Linked DNA regions of Homo sapiens: region 2 is linked to region 1. Evidence: promoter capture Hi-C in 16 types of primary human blood cells and fetal thymus (Javierre and others, 2016). All regions are on one chromosome and are shown on one strand. Each heading gives the region's core, a stretch centred on a gene start or on the middle of the fragment in contact. The rest is flanking DNA. Distances are from core to core; before and after follow the strand shown. Region 1 holds the start of C1QL2 (complement C1q like 2). Region 2 has its middle 35 kb from the start of EN1.

The links. The method cuts DNA at HindIII sites, captures the fragments that hold promoters and counts their contacts. A CHiCAGO score of 5 or more calls a contact.
Region 2: a fragment that was not itself captured here is called in contact with the fragment with the promoter of C1QL2 in region 1 in 10 of 17 cell types (M0 macrophages, M1 macrophages, M2 macrophages and 7 more); the score reaches 16.9 in M0 macrophages.

Annotation. Positions count from the first base shown.
Region 1 is chr2:119,157,499-119,162,940 of GRCh38, reverse strand. It overlaps C1QL2 (complement C1q like 2), which reads left to right and starts at 4,190. Exons shown (of 2, transcript NM_182528.4): 1 at 4,190-5,355. The coding sequence starts at 4,672. RefSeq lists an enhancer at 5,012-5,442. The HindIII fragment of the contact is 3,837 bases long and covers 1,911-5,442 here.
Region 2 is chr2:118,880,386-118,885,290 of GRCh38, reverse strand. No RefSeq gene overlaps it. Among named protein-coding and RNA genes, the nearest start is that of EN1, 35 kb to the right of the region's middle. RefSeq lists a silencer at 3,467-3,526. The HindIII fragment of the contact is 3,569 bases long and covers 1,393-4,905 here.

The sequences.
Region 1 (5,442 bases), core at 2,941-5,440:
CTTTGGGGATGCAGGCAGAAGATTGGCCAATGTATTCCACATGATGTCTCTAAAGAGCTTACACTCTAATTGGGACACAGGTCTGATTTAGAGACAGCATGTCAATAAACACCCATGCTGCAGCTGTTCAGGTACAAACTCATGTGCTACGGGTAGAAAGAAATGGGGGAGCTGAGGGTGTCTTGTAGAACAGCTAGAGTAGAAGGAACCAAGACTGTTGTGTACCACTGTGTACTCAGCACGTGGCATGATGGCTGGCATATGACAGGGGTCAATAAACACATATTGAGCAAATGAATGACATACACAAAAGATGAAGATGAATGAATGATACGATTCCTGCCCTACTGGAGCCCATAGCCAGGTGGGGGAGGCTAACTAATAAAGAAATGCATGATGGTAAGACATAGGATGGCAGGGTACATTCAACGTACTCTAAAGCGTACATGGGTAGGAACTATCAACTCAGCTTAGAGAAGGGTCACGGAAGACTTCAGACAAGGAAGTGACACTTAGCTGAGACTGAAAGGATAATTAGAGAGGAGTCCAGATGAGATGCAGGAGACAGGCCATGGTGCAGGTAGATGAAGCATGGGGCCCACTGCTGGTGGAGGCCACTAAAGAACCGGACATGACAGTGTGGAACCAAGCATCAAACTATGTGTCACAGAGCACAGGGCTCTATGAAAGGATAAGATAGAGAGCACTGGTTGGCACATAGTAGGTTGTCAGTGTATGTTGGCAGAAGGAATGCCTGCTGGATTACTAAAGGCAATTTAGAACAGATTTGAGTGGGTCTCGAAATGTAAAAACCACAGTCTAAATGGAAGGCAATATGTTAATATAGGTCATAATTAGTATTGAAGAGAAGATAGTCACCAATGATATGGATCGCTCAGGAGGAGCAGAAGCCAGGTGGATAAACAGGTATGTCAGCTGGGTGCAGTAGCTCACGCCTGTAATCTCAGCAATTTGGGAGGCTGAGGCAGGTGGATTGCTTGAGGCCAGGAGTTCGAGACCAGCCTGGCCAACATGCCAAAACCCCACCTCTACTAAAAATACAAAAATTAACCGGGCATGGTGGCGGGCACCTGTAATCCCAGCTACTTAGGAAGCTGAGGCAGGAGAATTGCTTGAACCTGGGAGGGAGAGGTTGCAGTAACCCAAGATTGTACCATTGCACTGCAGCCTGGGCGACAGAGTGAGACTCTGTCTCAAAAAAAAAAAAAAAAAAAAGAAAAAAAAATAGGTATGTTCAACACTCCAGCAGGCCATGCCTTCTGGCCCTGCCATGATGGGTGGGAGGAAGGAGAAGCAAGGGGAAAGACACCTCTTGACTTATTTGGCTGCTATGTGGAGGCTGCCTGGGCTCTGCCTGCCCTGGAGCCTGCTGCCCCTGCCTCCTGGTGGAGGGCTGGTCTTGAGAGGCGCTCCCAGGAATGCTGATCCCCAGGGAAGGTAGCTTTGCTTGTGGTCTGCCAAGGTGAAAGCCTGGGTCTCAAACATCTGACCCTCCTTGCTTCATCTTTGCCCAGATACTGCAAGGACAAAATCACTGGGACTTGGCAGTCTCCAGCAGTCTGAAAGGCTGGGGAATTCAAACGGAGTGAGTGTCTGCCTGGAAAATGTTTGTCCAGGTGGAACTGGTGACTGGGAACAAACACTCTGGGTAGTTTTGAAAGACAAAAAGACAGAGCAGGGCAGGCTTGGGGAATGTGGGAGGCATGGGACATCCCCCTTCTGCGCTCTGGAGAAGGACAAAGGATGTGAATTATCTTTGAGCTTCTCTTTTTTTAAAACCCTAACCCTCCCCATGCCACCCTGCATATTGCCTTCATGTCGCATCCTAGTGGTCATAACCATGGCAGGGGAGGTTGAAAGCATCAATAGCTAATAAAAATAGCTAAGCTTCTACTGAGCTAGCTATTGTTCTAAAGCCTTTACATTAATTGGCTCGTTCAGTCTTCTCAATAACTTAGAGGTAGGTTCTTTTTCCATTCCCATTCTACACATGGAGATCCGAGCTCAGAGAGATGAAGCAACTTGCTCAAGGTCACACAGACAGGAAGTCTCAGACCCAGGATTGGAAGTAGGCCATGTGGCTCCTGAAATCACGTGCTCTTGGGATGACTCTGAGGCAGAGAGTGGAGAAAGACTCCCAAGTCTGAGGAAACCAGTGAAGACTGTGGCCAAGAAGTAGCTGTTGAAGCTGTGTTCACTGACAGGTTCAGATAGCCCCTGATCTGGGTGCCGGGAGGATCCTGGCTCTGTCATGTGGGTAAAATGCACTTGGCAAACACCCTACACTTGCAAAACCTTTTTTTTTTCCTCATTGGTGCGGTGGGAAAATGATCACTAATCCACAGTAACATGAGGAATGAATGAAGGAGCACGTGCAAAGTGCCTGATGCATACGTAGTAGGTGCCAATAAATGTGCTCCTTCTCTCCTTGGTAAAGTTGGCTTCCGGCTAGGCTCAGTCATCCTTTCCACAAATATATGTGGAGAGAACAGGCTAGAGCAACGAGGTTGGGAGTGGGGAAATGACCCAGGGTGATCAGAGGACAAAAATAGATTTTAATTAACCCGTAAGAACCTAGTGCAGGACAAATGAGAGTTAGCTTCAAAGCAATAGCCTTAGGTGGGTGCACTGTTGTTCCAGAGATGCTGATGCTACACCAAACACTGACACCAGCCCTTAGATTCTCCCCCCAGGACAGGCCTGGTGTGATTCCCATGTTGGGGGTGCTAGGGCAGGAGGCGGCCTTTTAAGGAAACTGAGTCTCAGGGACAGGAACCACCTGGCAAAATCACACAGCTACTCAGGGCAAGAGCAGAAGCTGGGGCTTTGATTTCTCCGCTGGAAGTCTCTCCCACACCGGCGGGCCTCTCATCCTTCCTTAGCCTCACATGCTACATTGGAGATAGACTATTCTGCTCTCATCTGAGGCCATGGTTTATTCAAGACTGGCTCAGAATGGCTTTGGACTATTTGGACTATTTTCTAAAATAACTAAACCCATCTCAGGAGGAGGAAGCTGGGGATGTCCAAGGGAATGTGCCCATGCATCTGCCTGGCAGTGGCCGGGCTTGGAGTAGAAGCTGAGTGCACCATGATCACTGCCAAGTGCCGGCATCAAGCATTTGGTTTCTACACCAGCTTCACGCAGAGGACAAGGGCCAGCCATTTTCTGGTGGAAGAAAAGGTCTGAGGCGAATATTCCTTTTTTTTTTTTTTTTTTTTGAGATGGACTTTTGCTTTTGTTGCCCAGGCTGGAGTGCAATGGCACGATCCCGCCTCACCGCAACCTCTGCCTCTCTGGTTCAAGCGACTCTCCTGCCTCAGCCTTCCGCGTAGCTGGGATTACGGGCATGCACCACCATGCCCAGTTAATTTTGTGTTTTTAGTACAGACGGGGTTTCATCATGTTGGTCAGGCTGGTCTCAAACTCCCAACCTCAGGTGATCTGCCCGCTTCGGCCTCCCAAAGTGTTGGGATCACAGGCGTGAGCCACTGCGCCCGGCCGCAAATATTCTTGTATTGGGAGCCTTGGGCTTTTTAGAGTCACCTCAGAGGTTAGTGGGGTGCTCTACGGGAGCCTGTTTAAGAGTCTGGAGTCCTTAGTCTAGGTTTGCGAAAGATCTTCCAGAAGCGAGATCTATTCAATTCTGAAGAAATAACTCAGGAGGTCTTTCAGAAACTCCTTCCCGCTGGACCTCACGGGACTCTCCTGGACTCGGTGGGTTGAGGTTTGATCCTCTTTGCAGGCCAGGGGATGGATTAGGTGACCCCAGAGGAGCCCTGCTGACACCTGGATTCCAGCTGCTTTCGTGGCCATGTGGGGGTGGCTGTGCGTGCCCCGCCACTGCGTGCGTGGGTGTCTGTGTGTGTTATCGGTGGGGGGCGCGTGAGTGTGGCCGCGGGTGGGTGTGTCCGATGTGCCCCGGCTTGGGACCGCGCCCGCTGCGCCCACTTGTGGCTCCTGGGAGCCGCCAGGGGGAACCGCGCCTTCACCGCCTCTGCCGAGGACGCCGCCAGATAGGAGGCTGATGACATGAGGGCTCCGTCTCCCGAGTGATGGCAGCGCGCGCTGCTTCGCCGCCTCCGCCGCTCAGCCCCGGACTCCTTACGTCAGGGTAGCGGGGTCCCCCCTCCGCGCGGGAGCCAGCGAACAGCGAGAGAGCACAGCAGAGCGCGCCGCGGAGCCGGGGCGCCCTCACTGCGCTAGGAGCCCCACTAAACCCAGCGGAGCGGAGCCTGGCGGGAGGCAGCGCCGCGGAGCCAGCGCCGGACGCCGCAAGCAGACTCCCCGGCCAGCGCAAGCACTCCCTGGCCGGCGCCGGACCCTCGGGGCGCCGGATTCGTCTTGTGTGCCCCACGTCATGCGCGCGGGCGTCCGCGGCTCTCCCGACCAGCCCCAGCGCGGTGGGCCCAGGCTCAGAGGTCCCGGCGCCTCTCGCTGAAGTAGTTGGGTAGCCGGGGCTGGGGGTCGCCACGTCGGGGGCGCGGCCAGGACCCGCGGAGCCGGTCCCCGAGCGCGGGGAGCGGGGCCGCCCGCGCCGCCCCACCATTACCTCCCCGGGCGGCAAGGAGGAGCTGGTGGCGGTCGCCTCCCGGCTGTGGCAGCGGCGGCGGCGTGCCTGCCTGGCGGCCGTCGGCGTACTCTTGGCCATGGCGCTCGGGCTGCTCATCGCCGTGCCGCTGCTGCTGCAGGCGGCGCCCCGAGGCGCCGCGCACTATGAGATGATGGGCACCTGCCGCATGATCTGCGACCCTTACACTGCCGCGCCCGGCGGGGAGCCCCCGGGTGCAAAGGCGCAGCCACCCGGACCCAGCACCGCCGCCCTGGAAGTCATGCAGGACCTCAGCGCCAACCCTCCTCCTCCTTTCATCCAGGGACCCAAGGGCGACCCGGGGCGACCGGGCAAGCCAGGGCCGCGGGGGCCCCCTGGAGAGCCGGGCCCGCCTGGACCCAGGGGCCCTCCGGGAGAGAAGGGCGACTCGGGGCGGCCCGGGCTGCCAGGGCTGCAACTGACGGCGGGCACGGCCAGCGGCGTCGGGGTGGTGGGCGGCGGGGCCGGGGTAGGTGGCGATTCCGAGGGTGAAGTGACCAGTGCGCTGAGCGCCACCTTCAGCGGCCCCAAGATCGCCTTCTATGTGGGTCTCAAGAGCCCCCACGAAGGCTATGAGGTGCTGAAGTTCGATGACGTGGTCACCAACCTCGGCAATCACTATGACCCCACCACGGGCAAGTTCAGCTGCCAGGTACGCGGCATCTACTTCTTCACCTACCACATCCTCATGCGCGGCGGCGACGGCACCAGCATGTGGGCGGACCTCTGCAAGAACGGGCAGGTCAGTGACCCCTACACTCACCGGCCCCCGTAAACCCTCGCCCGCGCCCTGAACCTCCCAGGGAACCAGCCTCCTTTCTCTCCACCC
Region 2 (4,905 bases), core at 1,928-4,427, 280 kb after region 1:
CCCGCAGCCTTGGGCAAGTCAGTTAATCATTCTGGGCCTCCATTATCTTCTCTACAAAGGTGGGTTATTTGATCAGATGATCTTTCTGCACTCATTCTCACTAAAGGGTAAATGACTAACACAGTAAGTTGTGTTGGCCTTCCAAGAGGTGGTTGCACATTTATTGGAAGTGATGCTTTCACTAGGCTAAGAAACAACTCAGCTTGAATGCCAGACTGATGATTATACATGTGTGGATAATGAGAAAGTACAGATGTTTCTGGAACATACATCCAGCTATAGAATTTCAGACTCTTACAGCTGGAGGGTATGTTAGTGATGACCTTGTCCTACCCTCTCATTTTACAAAAGAGAGACAGACAAAGAAGGAGTCAAAGAGAGAGAAAGAGAGAGATAGAAGTAGTAAAGAAAAAACAGTGTACCCTATTCCTTTAAAAGCCAGGGTAAATTTCTGTCTACCCAGCCAAGGCATATTCTTCTTATGTGGAACTTCAACCTATATCTGCCTCTCAGGCAGTTTGCAAGAAATAACAAAATCTATCCTTCCTCTGCAATCCCAAATAGACTCTTTGGCAGCAGTGACTCTCCAAAATCACCGAGGCCTAGATCTCCTTACTGCTGAGAAGGGACGACTCTGCACCTTCTTAGGGGAAGAGTGATGTTTTTACACTAACCAGTCAGGGATAGTAAGAGATGCTGCCCGGCGTTTACAGGAAAAGGCTTCTGAAATCAGACAACGCCTTTCAAACTCTTATACCAACCTCTGGAGTTGGGCGACATGGCTTCTCTGCTTTCTAGGTACCGTGACAGCCAGCTTACTATTACTCACCTTCGGGCCCTGCATTTTTAACCTCCTTGTAAAATTTGTTTCCTCTAGGATTGAGGCCATCAAACTACAGATGATCTTACAAATGGAGCCCCAAATGAGCTCAACTAACAATTTCTAGTGAGGATCCTTGGACCGACCCGCTGGCCCTTACACTGGCCTAAAGAGTTCCCCTCTGGAGGACACTACAACTGCAGGGCCCCTTCTTCACCCCTATCCAGCAGGAAGTAGCTAGAGCAGTCATCTCCCAATTCCCAACAGCAGTTGGGGTGTCCTGTTTAGAGGGGAGATTGAGAGATGAAGCCAGCTGGACTTCCTGGGTCTAGTGGGGACTTGGAGAACTTTTGTGTCAAGCTAAAGGATTGTAAATGCACCAATCAGAACTCTGCAAATATGCATCAATCAGCGCTCTGTGTCTAACTAAAGGATTGTAAAATGGACCAATCAGCACTCTGTAAAATGGACCAATCATCAGAAGGTGGGCAGGGACAAATAAGGGAATAAAAGCTGGCCACCCCAGCCAGCAGCAGCAACCTGCTGGGATCCCCTTCTATGCTGTGGAAGCTTAGTTCTTTCCTTCTTCACAATAAATCTTGCTACTGCTCAGTCTTTGGGTTTGCACCACTTTTAAGAGCTATAACACTCGCCATAAAGGTCCGCGACTTCATTCTTCAAGTCAGCCAGACCAAGAACTCACTGGAAGGAACCAACTCCGGACACAAAAGGAGATCCTGAGGCCTAGAGAGGGGAGGTGACTTGCCCACTTCTTGCTGCCCAGTGGCATAAGCAACATGGTGTTTTAAACCCTGGGAACTTGAAGACATAGGGACAGTTGCTTTGGGGGAACCATACACATTGCTCAGCTCTGCACACTTTCAGGGTCAGCTATCTGAAACCACTTAGCATACTCACTCGAGTCTCCTGAATTTGGTGGCATGAAAGAATTTATTTCTTGATGCATTTCTACAAACAAGGTCCTCGATAAGCAGGACAAATACAAAAAGAAAGTCAAAAATAGATGTTGAAAAATGAAAGAAAACTATCAGACAAACAAGAGACGAAAACCACACAGGATTTTAAATGGGAAAGTTAAGAATTATTAACTAATAACAGGGGAGTATCAGGGTATTGGCTACTGAGGGTAAAGGGAGCACTTTACAGAGGTGGCAGATATATGGGGCAGGCACTAAAGGCTAAGCGAAGTGCCCGAGGAGAAAACAAATGTGGGACACCCCACCCGCTTCCCCTCTCACCACCAAGGATGAGAATCAGACTTTGCGGGAGAGCATGGGGCTGTCCCCACTGGAGAATGAAGTTTGCCCAGGTGACAGGTGGAGACTGTCCAACAGGAAACTGCCCCCGGGGGTGACAGCAACCCTTTCCGGGAAGCTGCCTGGAGGAAACGCTGCTGAACTTTCTGAAAAATCGGCTGGGGGACTGGTGGGACGGCGAAGCCCTCAAGGGGTGCTTTTGAACTCACTGGAAGCTGGGCGAGGTGCCAGCAGAACTCGCTAGAAAGCTGCACACAGGGGATGCCACTGCAAGTCCTTGAGGGAGGCTGCAACTGGGTGTCCCGAACCCCGCGGGAGCAAGAAGGAATCAGAGCACAGAGACACCAGCAGAGAAGCCCTTCCCCCTGCAGTGTGCCTCTACCACCCTCTACTGGCAAAGCTGAGCATCGTGCCAGTTGCAAAAGAGACGTGTTGGCAAGATTCACCTCCAGTATCACAAGCAATGCAATGAAGTATGGGTTGGGAGAAGTGAGGCAATAAAGTGATAAGTGACACACTCATAACCTGGAACACAACTATTGAGGTAGTGTGCCCCTTTGGTCCTAGGCATTGCCCCCAAAGTCTCAGCCTTTCAAGTTTTCTCACTCTCTTTCTACCCCCAGGTCTTCCCTTATGGCTACACCGGATGATGTTCATGAATGTCATGGAAGCTGAAAACAGTCCCGCTTGGGTCTCAGAAGCTGAGGGTATTAGACAGGAAGGGTCACTTAGCCAGGCTGACCTCGTGTCCAGGTTTGCACCTGCTGTCCCAACCACTGTCCTGTTAGTGCTCCCTCCCACTCTCCCAAGTGTCCTGCTCAGGTGATAAATTACATGGTTCCCTGAAGGCAACCAGCCTGAGTCCAGTCCCATGACTTTACAGATGAGGAAACTCCTACACTGATGTCGAAGAAGAGGCTCTGTGGGGACGTGGGGAGGACTGGACTTGGCTTTAATGTGCAACTTTGGCTTGTTGTTAAGCCTCTATCTAAAATGGTCCACCAAGAGGTAAAATGAGGTCATGTGTGCAGAGCATCAGGCATACATCGTGACCTGAGGGATGGGATGCGCCAACCTCTGCCATGTAGCTCTTCCATCTGCCCACCTCCCCAATCCCTATCCATATTCCCCAGTCTGTCTTCCAGACAGAAACAACAGGGCACATTTATAACAGTGGAGCAAAATACCCCTTCAGAATAGACACTGCTAACAGAAAAGTTCCAGGGTGCAAATCTCAATGTTTGGAAAGGAGGATCAGAGCTGTAAACGCCCAGGGATTGCTAAGCAAGAAGAGGATATTGAGCACTCTCTCCAGTTCATGCCTCTGTCTCCTCAAAGTCCCTCTTCCTGATGGCTACCAGAGGCTTAGAGAAAGCAACCAGGAGCAAACGCCTCTCTCTGGGTAGGCCGGTCCAGCTCAGGTGCACCTATTCCATGGCAAAAAAACAGCCCACGATCTCCACCTGGTGGCCAAGCTATAGAACACACTCCCTCGCCAACTGCTGATCAACCTGTTGAGCAGCTACCCTGCGGCCATTTACAAAAGAAACACAGGCTGGGACCTTCTCTACAGGTGACCTGATGGTGGCTGCTCCTGGAGGCTGATTGGAAGCACGTGTCTGTCTCAGGCCACACTTTGACATGGCACGAGAGACTTCTCTGCCACGCTTGCTGCCCTGGATCCAGAACAGGTTACTCCAGGGTTTCTCAGCCTCAGTACTCTGAACATTTGGGGCTGGATATTTCTTTGTTGGGGGTGGGGTGAGGCCATCCTGTGCATTGCATGATGTTTAGCAGCATCTCTGGCCTCTACTTACGAGATGCCTGTAACAACCCGCTTAGTTAGGGCAACCAAAAATGTCTCCAGATGTTGCCAAAGTCCTATGCAGGAGAGGCAAGACACAAAATCGCCCTCAGTTGAGAATCACTAGGCTACTTAACCAGTCAAGCCTTCGGCACTTATAACGATAGAGACTGATTTTGGACTTGGGTTCCACACAGCATTCTGCAAGCCATTGCAGTTTCCAGTGAGCTGCTTTCTTGGACGCCAGTTAGAACCTGTCATCAGTAGCTCATGGTTTAGGTTTTGAGGAAGGTCTCCTTTTTCTCTGCTTCCAGCATGCTAATTTTGTTTTTTTGAACAAGCTAATGGCATCTCAAGGAAAGGGACCATGTCTTTTCCTTTCCTTGGGCTGCTTTCAGAGACAAGCATGGTGCTTGGAACTTAGGTGCTCAGCATGTAGGTGCTCCAAAGCGCCTGCAGGTTCACAAAGTCAGTCCCCTTCCACGGACCGCAGTGTCTCTCAAAATTATGACTGCCCTGCCTGGAAACCTCCTTGGCCTCTTTTCCTTGGAACCATAGCTAATGAAGAGATCCATCTCATCTCCACCTACATCTCCCGCTGGTGGGCAATCTAATTAGGTTCTTTCTACAATTAACTATTCGTAATTAAAGAGGAGCAAAGCCCATGTGTCATTCTTTAACTCCATCCGTTAAACAACAATGTCCAATTTTGAAATCCCTCTTCAGACAAGGAGAAGTGGTGCATGTGTGGGCTAAGAATTCTCCAGATATGCTAACCTAAATTTAATTATGCAAGGAGAACAGAGGTTTCACTTCATTGTTCCTGGAAGTACTGTAATTAAAACTCAATTAGGGGTGGCACTGGCCAGCATCATTACTCGAGAGTCACCCTGTTGAAGAGACAAACAGCTCAGTGTGCTCATGCAGACATCATCCTGAAGCCTTTGCAAGTAAAGGGGTCATCCAGATCATCCTCTGTCTTCCAGCATCTTCTAAAAGCACCA